Regions from separate parts of the Homo sapiens genome. Here region 2 is linked to region 1. The links are contacts of gene promoters, found by promoter capture Hi-C in blood cells and fetal thymus (Javierre and others, 2016). All regions are on one chromosome and are shown on one strand. Each heading gives the region's core, a stretch centred on a gene start or on the middle of the fragment in contact. The rest is flanking DNA. Distances are from core to core; before and after follow the strand shown.

The links. Contacts are between HindIII fragments. The CHiCAGO score rates a contact against its expected background, and 5 or more counts as called.
Region 2: a contact is called between a fragment that was not itself captured here and the fragment with the promoter of CALHM3 in region 1, in 5 of 17 cell types (M2 macrophages, M1 macrophages, naive CD8 T cells and 2 more). The highest score is 6.9, in M2 macrophages.

What each region holds. Positions count from the first base shown.
Region 1 is chr10:103,475,113-103,482,992 of GRCh38, forward strand. It overlaps CALHM3 (calcium homeostasis modulator 3), which reads right to left and starts at 4,128. Exons shown (of 3, transcript NM_001129742.2): 1 at 3,634-4,128; 2 at 1,182-1,437. The coding sequence starts at 3,920. It overlaps NEURL1-AS1 (NEURL1 antisense RNA 1), which reads right to left. Exons shown (of 4, transcript NR_120675.1): 4 at 4,491-4,885. RefSeq lists enhancers at 897-1,791, 1,792-2,686. The HindIII fragment of the contact is 14,732 bases long and covers 827-7,880 here.
Region 2 is chr10:103,410,618-103,418,497 of GRCh38, forward strand. It overlaps PDCD11 (programmed cell death 11), which reads left to right. Exons shown (of 36, transcript NM_014976.2): 9 at 2,499-2,705; 10 at 3,349-3,473; 11 at 3,653-3,713; 12 at 4,388-4,534; 13 at 5,874-6,125; 14 at 7,175-7,315; 15 at 7,823-7,880. Among named protein-coding and RNA genes, the nearest start is that of PDCD11, 18 kb to the left of the region's middle. The HindIII fragment of the contact is 2,714 bases long and covers 2,288-5,001 here.

The DNA.
Region 1 (7,880 bases), core at 2,878-5,377:
TCCTCTCCCTCCTCTCTACCTTCCAAAGCCATAGTCTCTTTAAGGCCCAGCTTGAGACCTGATGCAATTGTGTGGACCTGGAGCAGGGAAGTCACGTCTCTAAACCACAGGGACATATTTGAATCCTTATCATTTACAGAAGTGATTTCCACGATTTATAAAGCTCTCTCATTTGGCATCTCACAGGACTCCCCCAACATCACCAGATTTAAGGTGAGTATTTTATACACGAGAGTAGAAAACCAAACAACTTACTAAACTTTACATGACTGATAATTTACAGCTGAGTCAGGATTCAAACCCCGGTCTCACTGCAAATTCCATGCTCTTTCCACCGAACTAGGGAAAGCCTAGAGTTTTGAAGCTTGCAGGGACCATCAAGATGGAGGAGACCAAGCTCCCCTGTATTTTGCATGATAAACTGAGGTCCAGAGGGGTAGTCCCATGGCCACGGTCACAGTCTGAGCCAGAATCAAGTGCATCCTGCACCTGGGTCCTCCCTCCACCGCACCATTGGCCAGCCCATGAGCCTGTCAGACTTCCCAAGGGGCAGGGGCTGTGTGTTTATTATCTATAGCCCTAGTGGTGCTCCGTGTGTAGTGGGTTCACATAAATACTTTTTGGTGGACACAACTCAGTGCTGGGGCTGTAGGAGCAGTGGTGGTGGAATCTGGAGTCTAGGCTGGGGGTAGAGCTGGGGTTTGTCCCCCAAGATAATAGAGTTGGTGCCTTTTGGGAAGATCAGCATCTGGAGAGAGCCTGCATTGTTGGAAGGTGGTTAAGAGGAATAATGACACTCCTTCCGATCCCTGCTCTGCCTCTTATAAGCTTTGTGACTTTGGCCTTATGAACTAAACTCTCAGAGCCTGCTTCCTCACCTGGAGAATGGGATGATAATGGTTGTTCCACAAAGTAAATGAAATAATACATATAAAATGCTCACTGCAGTGCCTGGCACATAAATGCTCAATAAGTGGAGATTAGTATTATTTCTCACGGGTGGGAAGAAGGTGTGCAGTGGGCGCAGGCAAGGCAGAGCAGTGGTCTCCAGCACTTCCCTGCCTCCTGGGAATGGGCTGAGCCCATCATCTGTCCCTCCTCACCACCCCCTCACCCCACTCCAGAACCAATGCGGGGGATTTGTGAGGGTGCAAGGGCCGGGGGAGGATCACCCCAGTTACCTGTGACAGGCACCGCAGGTAGCGAGACACTGCCTTCCGAGCAGGGCTATCCCTGACCAGCTCATCCTCCTTGCAGGGAACCTTGGCCAGGAAGAGCTGTACCTGGCTGGGGGTCATGTTGGCAAAGTCCAGAAACTTCTCAGGGTCCACAGAGCTGCTGAAGGCACACACGAAGCACTTCCCGTCAAGGAGGGCCAGCAGGATCCAGACCAGGGGGGCGGCCAGCGCCCTCTGCAGCACAGAGGAGCACATGTACCTGGCAGCAGAGGAAGGAGGGGGGTCAAGGGGCAGCTGGAAGTCAGCTGCAGCAGGGGAGGTGCAAGGATGGACTGCTGGGAAGTCCCAGGCTGGGTTACATCAGACTGCAGCTCCCAGTGTAGAGGTCCCAGTGACAGAGACAGGCAGAAAGGAGGGCAGGGGCCCCTGGGATCCCCAGGACTGGAGCACTGAGGACTTGGTATTCCTCTTGCCCTAGGCCTTACAGCAGACACTGCTGGTGCCCTGCCCATGCCAGAGGCATCTGTGGGTGCAGTGGCTGGTTCTATTCACCTGGAGGGCCTGAGGGCCTCCTACCTCAAGCATCTGCATTGTTCTGCCCCTGGGGCTTTGGAGGATTTTTTGCTCCAGAGAGGGGTAGGCTGGAAGCACTGAAAAGTTAACCCCCAAATCAACCTTCAACCCCAGAGGGATGGGGCCTTGTGGATAAATATCCCAGCTTCTTAAATCCTCAGTGGGAAAATTCTGAGATGTGTTCTATGCATGCCCTTAGGGGGTCCCCTGAAGGATTAAGCCCCAGTTGCCCACTCATTATCACATTCTTTCAGAGCCTGCTTTTGGAGGAGAGCCTAAGCTAAGACAGCCCTGCCCAGTAACCCTCCAAAAGCAGCACCTCTAACACCCCTACCCACAAGGCATCCCAGGAGCCCACCCTCTGACCGGCCTCAGGCGCCTTTCCAGATCAACTCTGCCCCTGCCTGTAGTGACCTCGACTGGGTATTGGCCACAGGACAGGAGCCCAGTGGAGCTGTGCCCACTGGACCCCAGAGGAAAAGGCCAAGGACACACCCAGTGCCTGTGACCCACCCTGCACAGCTGAATTGCAGGGAGATGTGATCCCTGAGAACATGGAACAGAGGCTGAGGGTGCACCGGATGCAGATGTTGTTTCTGAATTGGATTGTACACAAAACATCCAATGGTGTGTGCCAGGTGTGTGCGTGCATGGCCTACCCAGTGTGAGCTGTAAATATGTTCTAGGCAGTGGTGGCTTTAGCATTTTCTTTTCTTTTTTTGTCTTTTTTGAGTCTTGCTCTGTCGCACAGGCTGGAGTGCAGTGGCACGATTTCAGCTCACTGCAACCTCTGCCTCCCAGGTTCAAGCGATTCTCCTTCCTCAGCCTCCTGAGTAGCTGGGACCACAGGTGCCCAACACCACGCCCAGCTAATTTTTTATATTTTTTAGTAGAGATGGGGGTTTTGCCATGTTGGCCAGAGTGGTCTCGAACTCCTGACCTCAGGTGATCCACTCGCCTCGACCTCCCAAAGTGCTGGGATTACGGGTGAGAGCCACCGCGCCTGGCCCCCCCACCCAATCTCTGGCTCCTTATTTTCCCCCAAGGCTAGCCATAGAAACTAGAATCCATCTTCCCCAAGGTGGGTCATAGAAACCAGAACTCCTTTTCTCCAAAGCTGCCACCATAAAACCTAAAAATATGATTCTAATTTCCCCCCGCCTTTCTGTCTGAAAACTGGCCGTAAAGAAATGATCTGACCTACCTAGTTTCATTGTAGATCATAAGACTCCCTTCTAGAGAGGGTCCTGCCCCGTGTCTGGGAGAAAGGAACACTGTATAGAGAGGCCAAGAAGAACCTAGATGGCCTTGCTGAGTTTCCCCACTCCGTCTATAACATCAGTTCATCCCTTTTTTAATCCAATTCTATTTCTGCGTGGCTATCCAAACCTTGTTGAACCTAAGCATAAAAATGAACCATTTCCTCTGTATCTTTAGGTCTTTATTCTGAAGGTTCTGTGGCACATAAAACGGTAATCAAATAAATTTGTATGCCTTTTCTCTTATTAATCTGCCTTTTGTCAGTTGATTTTCAGCAGAGCTTCAGAGGGCAAAGAGGAAGTTTTCCCGCAGCCCCTAGAGTGGCCTGGGTAATTGGGAATCCTGTGTCATTCCTATGTTTACAGCACTGGCCACGGAAAGGTGACAAACGATAGGAACAGAAATATGTTTCCAGAGTGGAAACTGGCAAGTGGCTCTCTGTGAGCCGATAATTCCTAGTTGGGGAAAGGAGAGGGCGCACCTGGCAGTACCTGTAGGGTGGGTGGAGAATCCCCTGATAATGAGAATGGTTGGGGTCTGGGGGTGCACTTGACAGTGCCTGTGGGGTGGCTGGGGAGCCCCTGGCAAAGCTCATGGGTCACTGAGTGGTGTGGGACCGCACCTGATGATGCCTGGGTCCTTCCTCCGGTGCCCTGCGGGCCGGCGCCACTCCTCGACCATCACCACAGACTGCCGGTTGGCGAGGAGGCCGCAGAGAAACAGGGCGAGCGGGGGCGTCAGCAGCAGGCCCAGGCCGTAGAGTGCATTGTAGTGCACCAGGCAGGGACAGTTGAAGTCAAAGGAGGAGTACAGCTTGACGGTGACCGCAGCCAGCAGCAGGCAGATGCCATTCATCACCGACTCCGAGCTTGACTGGAAGTGCTGGAAGAGCATGCGGAATTTATCCATGGCTCCAGCCTGGGTGGGTGGGCGGCCGTCGGTTCGGCTCAGTGAGGCTCTGGCCACCTTCCTGGTGTCTGCTGTGCTGGGGACGAGCCTGGGATCTGCAAGAGGTTCTCTCTCTGCTTCCAAGGGCCTGAGGGGCCAAGGAGGAAGCAGTGCCCAGGCCCCAGCCCAGGCTCCCGGGATCCAGTAGGCACTTAAGGCAGGGACAGGCTCTCACCACAAAGGCTCCCCTGCCCAGCCCAATGGTCCCCTGGTGCCACTCCCCTCCTGTCTGGGGGAGTGAGTCACCCTCTGTGACCGGGCAGCCCAAAGCACCTCTAGGCAAATGGGCCCCGCCCTGTCACTCCATTCCTCCCGGCCCATTTCTCTTTGCTTTACGGTCTGGATGCTCAGGCTTGACAGCCGTTGGAGCTTCCTTCGGGGGACAGGCAAATTCTGGGTGTGGTGAGGAAAAGATGCTGATGGAGCCAAGGTAGTATATTTTCTGGTCTTGATCAAAAGCATGACTCTGAACTTGTCTCACAGGCATAGTAAAACAACAGCAACAACAACAACAAAATATGACGACTCAGCTCAGCCCAGGGAGATTTCATGTTGGCTTTCAGGCTAGGAGGAGCCAGAAGGGGCACCTATTCCTGACCGAAGGCTTCCTGGAAGAGGAGACCCTTGAGAGGAGTCTTCAACGATGTTTCAGCATTTGCCATGAAAGGGGTAGCGGAAGGGGATGGCCTCCCTGGGCGACGTGCTAAACATTGTGCATTAACCACTGGGTGCCCATGGGAGAGGCTGCTCAAGTGCCACGCCCACACCTGCATGGCTTTCCCCCTGCCCTTCTTCCGTGTGAGGGGCATGCGTTTGAAATCACTGCTTCTTCTCCTAACTCTCCCACATCACTAGGTCTCTCCTTGTGTCTCAGTTCCAGTCTCTCCGAAGGATGACAGCCCAGATGTTTGAGGGACCCCTGAAACCTGCAAAACGAATTTTGTAAAGGTCACTTGGCCCATATTGTAAGTCAGATCATCCCAAATAAGTCTTGCAAATTTCGTAACCATCTGTGTGGTCTGTACTTCTGATGAAGACAGACAGAAACCTGGGTCTTACTTATTATTATTATTATTATGAGATAGAGTCTTGTTCTGTCACCCAGGCTGGAGTGCAGTGGCACGATCTTGGTTCACTGCAGCCTCTGCCTCCCGGGTTCAAGTGATTCTCCTGCCTCAGCTTCCAAGTAGCTGGGATTACAGGCACCCACCACCACGCCCAGCTAATTTTTGTATTTTTAGTAGAGACAGGGGTTTTGCCATGTTGGTCAGGCCGGTCTCGAACTCCTGACCTCAGGTGATTTGGCCCCCTTGGCCTTCCAAAGTGCTGGGATTACAGGCATGAGCCACTGAGCCTGGCCACTTAGTATTTTTATTTTCCATATTTGTACGTTACTCTAGGTCCTATGAGACAGATTTCCCTGTGTGAGGGAAATGAGGCACTGGAGAAGATGGGGAGAGCCACCAGTGGCCCTGTGAGTCTGACTCTGAGCGGAGGAGAGGGCGGGGCAGGGGTGAGAAACCCTTCAAGCCAGGAGGACCACCACAACTTCAGGTGGGTACAGTCCCAGAGGGGCTGTTGGAGGTCACATACCCTGGCGGGGACAGAGCCAGGGAGGAAGCTGGGATCCTCCATCTGTGCCTTTCAGCCTTAGTCACCCACTGGGCTGCTGACCAGAAAAGGGGACTGTCCTGGCCCAAGGCCAGGCTTCGTGACCCTGAACCAGCAGGGCTGGTGTGGAGCAGGCGGGGAGCTAACTGGGCTGGGAGGGTCATGAGCACCCCTCAATCCCATTCTAGTCTCAGGGAGGGATAGAGTGTCCTAAGGGTCCCCAGCCACTCTAACCTTGAGAGTTCAGAAAACAATAGACAATGCTTCTGGAAGAACACTTTGAAGAAAACTGGGTCAAAGACTCCAGGCCAACCTTTTCACAGCTCCAGCCTCTGAGAGGTAAGACAGAGCTACCAGGTCAGCCTGGGTCCCTGGAGCCCTGCAGGGCAACAGGTGCTGAGTGACTGCAGCGGGGCTGACCCTTGCCGGGTATTTACAGGAAATACTTCAGTAAAGAAACAGGCCAGAAAGAAGCCCACCACAAAAGGGATATTATCTGTCAAAGAGAGGGGATGGCTTACATTTTTTTTTAAATCTCTATTTTCTGAATTGTCGACTTTTATAATAGTAGACATAATAAATCATTACTATAATCATAATAATGATTTTTAACTATTTCCAGCAAAAATCATAAAACATTTTAATTAGAAAAACATAAAAAGATAAAAGGACAAGGCAAAAAGGAGAATTCCATTTTGTTGCCTGGAGCTTGGCCCTGCTGAACTAGTAGAGAGAGAACTAGAGGCAGCAATAAATGGAGAAAGGCTTCTTTTACTCACACATATGGAAAGATATTAAATTGCAGATCTGGCCGGGCGTGGTGGCTCACGCCTGTAATCCCAGCACTTTGGGAGGCCGAGGCAGGCAGATTGCCTGAGCTCAGGAGTTTGAGACCAGCCTGGCCAACATGGCAAAACCCCATCTCTATTAAAAATACAAAAAATTAGTCGGGCATAGTGGTGCATGCCTGTAATCCCAGCTACTTGGGAGGCTGAGGCTTGAGAATTGCCTCTCTTGAGGCTGAGGCATGAGAATTGCTTGAACCCAGGAGGCGGAGGCTGCAGTGAGCCCAGATCATGCCACTGCTCTCCAGCCTGGGCAACAAAGAGAGACTAAAAATAAATTACATTTTTCTTTTTAATAATGATTTAATCTTTTTTTTTTTTTTAAAACCAGTTGTAAATATGTGTTAATTTGCAATTGGAAGATCTTTATAGAATAAATCTTTGGTACTTTCTTCATGTTATTTTGTTTTATTTTCAAATTGGAGTCTTGCAGATATATTCTTGGGGGTCTTCCAGTTTTTTTTGATCTTTGCAAAGGAGTCTGGATATTATTTGAGAAACACTGGCTTCACCGTTCTTGGAGTTCCTGTTATTGAGAGGGCTGTTTAGGACTAGATGCCCCCTACTGGAGAAACTCGTTGTATGTGATGTGTGAGAGATGTGTCTATGTACCTGTGTATGCATGTGTGTACACATGTATGTGTATGTGCGTAGTGCATGTGTACATATTTGGTGTGTGTATGCATGTGTGTTTTCATACATATGGGTGTGGCCGTCTTCCTACTTTGTATATGGTGAGTATGCCCTCCCCTGACAGTTCTTTCTTTTCTTTTTCCTTCACAGGGAAGGCATTGAACGTGCGTCCCACTTCTCAGGACTGGGAGACTGTTGTTCTGTGTGTCTAGCAGAGGGTGGTGCCCTTTCTGTCTCTCGGTGGCGTGATTCTCTGCTTCCCTGAGGACACAGGCCTTTGAGCGGTCCTGGCAGACCCGGGGAAAGCAACGTGGCACTTCTGTGGGCCCCACTCTGGTGACTCCACAGAGCCGTGTAGCCCTAAGGGCAGAGACAGGCTGGAAATGAAATGGGGCCATCTAACAGATGGCGCTGGAACAACTGGCTAGCCATTCGGGAGCAATCTCTACTTCATGCTTCATACCAAAATAATTTTCACATGGTTCAAAGATTCAACATAAAAATTAAAATCATAAAAATTCTACAGGAAAACGTAAGGGAATTTATTCATAATCAGAGGCTAAGGAAGGCCTTTGTGAACAGACCCCAGAATTTAGTAGCTGTAGAGGAGTAGATGGACAAGTAAGAGTCATAAAAACTAGACGCTTCTATGGGCAAACATACCAATAAACAAAATAAAAATAACAAACTGAAGGAAGGGTATTTGCCACACAAAGGCCTCTTTTTCTTAATTTGCAGAAGGCTCATATAAATCAATCCAAAAGACGAACAATCCTCTAGAAAAATGGGTAAAGGATTTGAACAGGTTATTTGCAAAAAAAAAAAAAAAAAA
Region 2 (7,880 bases), core at 2,395-4,894, 65 kb before region 1:
TTTTTTTTTAAGACAGTGTCTTACTCTGTCACCCAGGCTGGAGTGCAGTGGCGCAAACACGGCTCACTGCAGCTTCAATCTCCTGGACTCAATTGATCTCCCACCTTAGTCCTCAGAGTAGCTAGGACCACAGATGTGTGCCACAATGCCTGGCTAGTTAAAAAAAATTTTTTTTAGGCCAGGTGTGGTGGCTCACGCCTATAATCCCAGCACTTTGGTAGGCCGAGGTGGGAGGATCACAAGGTCAGGAGTTCAAAACCAGCCTGGCCAGCATGGTGAAACCCCGTCTCTACTAAAAATAAAAAAAATTAGCCAGACCTGGTGGTGCGTGCCTGTAGTCCCAGCTACTCGGGAGACTGAGGCAGGAGAATCGCTTGAACCCAGGAGGCAGAGGTTGCAGTGAGCCGAGATTGTGCCACTGCACCCCAGCCTGAGCGACAGAGTGAGACTCTGTCTTTAAAAAAAAAAAAAAAAAAATTTTTACAGGCGAGGTCTCGCCATGTTGCCCAGACTGGTTTTGAACTCCGGGGCTCAAGGAGTCCCCCAACCTTGGCCTCCCAAAGTGCAGGGATTACAGGTGTGAGCCACAACCCTGGCTCCGCTCGTATTTAAATATTCAAATTTCCTACAATGAACATGGATATTTGGGAAGAAAATCCTAATATATGTTATTCAGAATTTTTTAGAATTCTAAAATGATTTCTTACTTTTCTTTTTTTAAATAGTAATGTGTGCTATAGATAATTTATTTATTTATTTATTTTTTGAGACAAGGTCACACACTATTGCCCAGAGTGGAGTACAATGGCACAACCACGGTTAATTGCAACCTCAACCTCCTGGGTTCAGGCGATCCTTCCACCTCAGCCTCCTGAGTAGCTGGGACTACGGATGCATGCCACCACGCCCAGCTAATTTTTGCTATGTTTTATAGAGATGGGGTCTCGCTGTGTTGCTCAGGCTGGTCTTAAACACCTGGGCTCAAATGATCCTCCTGCCTAGGCCTCCTAAAGTGCTGGGATTAGCCTCCTAAAGTGCTGGGATTATAGGCTTCAGCCACTACAACTAGCTGAGAATTTTTTTTTAAAGTGAAACTAGGATTTTCTACTACCTAGTGGTAATACTGTTAATATTTTCCTAAACCTCTTTTTAGTAATTTTTTTCACCCTATAAGCATTTGTGTATAGAGTTGAGACATTTTACATCTTTTAATGTTATGATGAGATCAGGCTTTTTCTGTTAGTTTCAGAGGAGCCTTGGATGCAGTGACACCAGTACATGGTTTCTGTTGTATTACAGATACATCAGCTCCTTGGTGTTGAGGGGACACCTAGTATATAGTTTTCTGGCCTTGAGTAAACTTTCTGGCTAATTTTTATTTATTTATTTTATTATTATTTTTTGAGACAGGGTCTCACTCTGTCACCCAGGCTGGAGTGCAGTGGCACGATCATCACTCACTGCAGCCTTGACCTCCTGGGCTCACTCAGGTGATTCTCCTGCCTCAGCCTCCCAAAGTGGTGCATGCCACCATGCTTGGCTAACTTTTTTTTTTTTTCTTGAGACTGAGTCTTACTTTGTCACCCAGGCTGGAGTGCAGTGGCACAGTGTTGGCTCACTGCAACCTCTGCCTCCCCATTTTAAGTGATTCTTGTGCCTCAGCCTCCTGAGTAGCTGGAATTACAGGTACGTACCACCATGCCCGGCTAATTTTTTTTTTTGAGACGGAGTCTTGCTCTGTCGCCCAGGCTGGAGTGCAGTGGCGTGATCTTGGCTCACTGCAGTCTCCGCCTCTTGGGTTCAAGCGATTCTCCTGCTTGAGCCTCCTGAGTAGCTGGGATTACAGGTGTGTGCCACCACACCCAGCTAATTTTTTGTATTTTTAGTAGAGACGGGGTTTCACTGTGTTAGCCAGGATGGCCTTGATCTCCTGACCTCGTGATCTGCCTGCTGCCTGCTTCGGCCTCCCAAAGAGCTGGGATTATAGGCATCAGCCACTGCTTCCAGCCTAACTTTTTTTTATTAAAACTAGAGATGAGGTTTCGCCATGTTGGCTGGGCTGTCTCAGACTCCTGATCTCAAGTGATCTGCCCACCTCAGACTCCCAAAGTGCTGGGATTACAGGCGTGAGCCATGATCCCCAGCCTATTTTTGTATTTTTTGTTGAGACAGGGTTTCACTATGTGCGCAGGCTGGTCTCTAACTCCTGAGCTCAAGTGATCCACCTGCCTTGGTGTCCCAAAGTGCTGGGATTACCAGTGTGAGCCACCCATACCTGGCTTGAGTAAGCTTTGATTTAGTCATACATAGTCCCTATGGGACATTTTGATTTTTCTGCATTCTGCTTGAGTGTGGAAGCCAGTTTGAGTACTTACATACTAAGGATGTGAGTACTCACATACCTGGTTAGCATGTGGAAAGGCTTGATGCCTGGAAGGTCTGCTCTAGGGTGCTCCTGTGTGCCTCCTCCTGCTCACCCTGCCCTTCCTTTTGTCTAGGTGAGGGCCTGCATCCTTTGCGTCCATCCTCGAACCAGAGTTGTGCACCTGAGCCTGCGCCCCATCTTCCTACAGCCTGGACGCCCACTCACCCGACTCTCTTGCCAGAACCTTGGAGCAGTGCTGGATGATGTTCCTGTCCAGGGTTTTTTCAAAAAGGCTGGGGCCACCTTTAGGCTGAAGGATGGGGTTCTGGCCTATGCCCGGGTAAGGAGGCCTCTTTGTTTGGTCAGGGATCTTATCACTGGAAGGACTTCTGGAGCACAGGGGGCCATTTCTGCTTCTTTCATTCCTTGATGCTAGTTTAAAATTTTTGGATATTGTAGTTCTAATTCCTGTTCATAGTGATTAGAACAATGTCTATTGACTGTATTAGGATGCCTTAGAACCAGCTTGCCATATCTGATACTTGGTTAATAGTTAAGTATAAGGATGAGTTAGGATCCAGACCAGGGCCCAGCAGAGTTTTTCTTAAAGGGCTATGTCATAAATACTTTAGGCTGTGGGCCCTGTGGTCTCTGTCCTAATTGTTCAACGCTGCTGTTATGGCATGAAAGCAGCCATAGACAGTACGTAAATGAACAGATGGCTGTATTCCAATACAACTTCTATTTACAAAAACAGGCACTAGGCACAGTTGACTGACCTGTGTTCTGGACTTTCCCTGACCTTGCTGAAATTCTGTGATGATAAAGAGCAGTTTTTTAGTGTGAAGAATTACTTAACCAGGCAATCAAAGTACTGTTTTTATGGTACATGATAAGTGTTGAGTCCTCTCTATGGGCTGTAAGGTCTCATTGGCTCAGACCTGTTGTCCCTGGCTTATCCTCAATCACTTGGTACTTTGCAGCTCAGCCATCTCTCTGATTCTAAGAACGTCTTCAATCCTGAGGCCTTCAAGCCAGGGAACACTCACAAGTGTAGAATTATTGACTACAGCCAAATGGATGAACTGGCCTTGCTCTCTCTACGAACGTAAGTCTGTCATTAACAGGTAGGGGTGTAGAGATGTGCACCTGTACATGTTCATATTCCATTTCTCCTGGCTGTGCTTGGGAAGGGTTTTCTTTCTTGCCAGCATGCCTGTGGTAGCCCTGAATTTTAGGCAACCTCTGCCCTAGTTTATTTAATTCTGTGTTTTCTCCTTGTCCTAGGTCTATTATTGAAGCTCAGTACCTTAGATATCATGACATCGAACCTGGGGCAGTGGTAAAGGTAAGACCTCAAGCATATAATTAGGTACTGCCTCACCATCAGGCGTTCTTTAGTTCACGCACAGGTGACTGTCAGCCCGTTAGTCCTCATGTTAACACATTGAATGTCATGTTCCTTGCTTCTGCCTGCTGACTAGAATTTCTTTCTCTTTCTTTGGGTAACTCATAGTTAATTTCAAGGTAAGATCTTACTAGCACCACCCAGCTACACAAAGGCAGTAGATCATAAATCCTGAGATTTGGGATTTGATGGTGGTTAGTAGACCTGATCAAAAGTTAGTCCTGTGATTATTGATCTACCTGGGATATTAGTGAGAAGCCAGTTCCAGGTACCTGTCCTGTCCGACCATTTGGCTCTAATCGAGCAGCTCCCTTTATATGTAGAGTTTATTCCTTAGGAGACCTTGACATAGTCCCTTCCTTTGGGGAATGTATTTTAAGGCACACAGAAAGCACATGCTCACACAGAAAGATGTGAAGGCTCCCATAAATAAAGCTGACAGAATAATCCAGCTCAGTGTGGGGTGTGTGCTTCACCCATGTGCCATCTGGAATAACAGGCACAGTTAGCCCAGGAAGTTGGCTGTGAAGGGGAGGTATGACATGCCTTGTTGTAAGAGGTGGGGGAAAGGCCATTCTTGAGACATTGTGGCAGCTTATCTTTGGATTCTCTAGGGCACAGTGCTAACCATAAAGTCATATGGGATGCTGGTGAAGGTGGGCGAGCAGATGAGGGGCCTGGTACCTCCCATGCACCTGGCTGACATCCTGATGAAGAATCCGGAGAAGAAGTACCACATCGGGGATGAGGTCAAGTGCCGGGTGAGCCTCCTGAAGGGTCTCTTGGGGTTTTGGCTAGATGGGAAGAAAGCAGTTCTCAACTGAAGTTTCTGCCTTTTTCCACAAAGTGAGTGTGTAATGTCTGTAGTGTGTCTTGTGCTGTACCTGGCATTGGGAAGAGAAAAGTGAGTCCCCGTTTTGTGTAGTATAATTGGGAGTTAAAATATTCATACGTGATGAGAGAGCAAGCCAGCCTGTGATCTTTTGCCATGTGGCTTGGTGCAGGTTGTGTGCTGTGGTCACACCTGAGAAAGGGGAGGTGAGGGTGGGCTGGAGCAGCCAGAATTGTTGACGTTATCAGTAGCGACTGCCACGAACAGGACTGCCACGAACAGGTATTCCGTGCCAGTTTCTATGCTAGGCATGTGACAAGCATTATTTCATTTAATCCTTGAAACAACCCTAACAATTAAGCACTATTATCTTCATTTTGCGGGTGGGGAAATTAAAGCTTCGGAAAGCCAACCGTCTTGCCCAGAGTCACACAGCTAATACATGGCAGAACAATTCAGCTCTGTATGACAATAATGTTTTCTAGATTTCTGGCAGAGGTGGAACTTGAAAGGATAGGTAGGATTTGGAAGGTTGGGGAGAGCAAAGGTTGTGTTCTAGGCACAGAAATAGCCCTGGCAAAGCTGCCAAAACATGGGTGATTTATGACAAAGGCTCGAATCCGAAGGAAAGCTTCATAGGGTTGTGAAGATCCAACATGATGATGCACACAAGAGTGCTCCACGGGCAGGCACTCAGCATGTTAGATTTTCCGGTATTCAGTTTATCTCATCGTTATTGACTCAGCAGAGGTAATGATTGCCCATTGGTGCAAAATTTTACAGTAGTGGGATCAAGGGTTAAAAATACTTTTTCTGTCTTTAAGGAGATGACCTTCTGAAGGGGTGAAAGACAGTTGCATCTCCATCTTATTTCATAGCTAATAAACGGCAGTACTAAGGTGGTAAATTGGTTCATCATTGGTTCTGTTAGACTAGATGCAAAGCCCACTAGGAAGGAGCCAAGATGGTGTAGAAGTTAGTGTAACCAAGACTCCATAGAGGTGATGTAAGATAATTAATGTTGCTTCATGGTCAGGAGAGGGTAGTTTGCAGCAATTTATGGGAGGAATTACATTTGAAATAGTGATTTGTATGCTCCAGATTGTCATACAGCAGGAAGAATCTGCCACTGAGATGATTAGAGGAAAAGCTATAGCAGGTTCTTGGGGAATGGCCCCGTGGCTTTTGGGTTTAAGAGGTTGCAGAGACCAGCTCAGTGGCTCTCATGATAACAGATAACTTGATGACAGCCTGTGTCCCTCCCCTAGGTTTTGCTTTGTGACCCTGAAGCCAAGAAGCTGATGATGACCCTGAAAAAAACCCTGATTGAGTCCAAACTACCTGTCATTACCTGCTATGCCGATGCCAAGCCTGGTCTGCAGACACATGGCTTCATCATCAGGGTCAAGGACTATGGCTGCATTGTGAAGTTCTACAACAATGTGCAGGGACTGGTGCCCAAGCATGAGCTCAGTACTGAGTATATCCCTGACCCGGAGAGAGTTTTTTACACTGGCCAGGTAACCCTTCCCCTAGACAGGTCCCCTTTACCCTTGGTGACCCCACAAACACAAATATGAAGGAGCAGTAAGTAGTGGGGCTGCCTTTAGGAGGCTGAGGAAGAGAGCACATGGGGCAGTGGGTGTGAGCCGGCTAAATGGAGGAGACGGGGAACAGAACAGAGAGAAAGCCTCAGCGGGGTTCAGCAGAAGCTGGCAAGCTGATGGATCTCAGGCACGCATGGAAGAGGTCAGTCTTTACTTGTAATAAACCTGTGCCTCTCATATCGGAAATTGTTTTGAGGTCACTGTCACCACATGGGGGCAGTGCTGTAAAACTAGTAAGTCTTGGTATCACTAGGAAAAGCATTTTTTTATTCCTTTAAACGACTTTAAACAGATAGATAATAATTGTACATATTTATGGGGTACAATATGATATTTCTTTTTTCTTTTCCTTTTTTTTTTTGAGACAGAGTTTCCTCTGTCACCCAGGCTGGAGTGCAATGGCGTGATCTCAGCTCACTGCAACCTCCACCTCCCAGGCTCAAGTGATTCTCGTGCTTCAGCCACCCAAGTAGCTGGGACTACAGGCATGTGCCGGCATACCCGGCTAATTTTTGTATTTTTAGTAGAGATGGGATTTTGCCATGTTGGCCAGGCTGGTCTCGAACTCCCTGGCTTCAAGTGATCAGCCTGCCTTGGCCTTTCAAAGTGCTGGAATTACAGGCCTGAGCCACTAAGCCTGGCCACCATGTGATATTTCAATACATGCTTACAATGTGTAACGATCAAACCAGGGTAATTAGCATCTCCATCACCTCAAAAAGAAAAATAATTTTTAAGACTTGGATTGTACAAAAAAAGTTACTTATGTCTTCCATTTATCCCAAAGGCTGCCCTGGGGGATTGTGTAGCTCTCAGTGCATTTCTTCTTTTCACTGCCTCCTGATCTGATCCAAAGGCTCGGTAGATCTCCCAAGTCCTCTGCAGCAGTAGTGGAGGGCACGTTGCAGGGCCTGCAAGGCTTGCTGGGAGGAGTTGGCCAAGCCTGTGTGGTTTCTTGCCAGGTGGTGAAGGTTGTCGTATTGAACTGTGAGCCATCCAAAGAGAGGATGCTCTTATCCTTCAAGCTGTCGAGTGATCCAGAGCCAAAGAAAGAGCCTGCAGGACACAGTCAGAAGAAAGGAAAAGCCATTAACATTGGGCAGGTACGTGGACTTCTCTGGACAAGCTATTTTATGTTACAGTGGCAGAGAGCAGGGAACCACTAACACATGGCATATTGGAACCCACGAAGCGGAAAGATAGAGGTAGCTAGATAAGATTTTGGGGCTAGAGGGGTTCATACGCATTCCTTCCTGTGTGTCAGAACAAATGGAAGCTGTCCCTGAAAGTCCTGTTACAGTGAGGCTTTTCAGCAGTGGGCTGCTGACCTCTTTCCTCTCGGGTCCCTAGGGCCAGCCTGCAGTTCTGGCTTTCCTGGGGCTCCGTGGAGGGACTTGAGAGAGGAGTGCGATGGGTCCACCCATGAGTCCTGGTGAATGTGCACGTACATGCATGCTGGGTGGTTGGGGTGGTGGGTGGGGTTTGGAAGAAAGCTGCCTCTTAGAGATCCTTGGTGCCGGAGTTTAATGCCTCCAAGCCCTGCCTAATCCAGACCAGGTTGTTCTCTGTTCATGACAAGTGCTATTTTTGTCTTTCTCTTCCCTGGGTAGTTGGTAGATGTGAAGGTTTTAGAGAAGACCAAAGATGGGCTGGAGGTGGCTGTCCTGC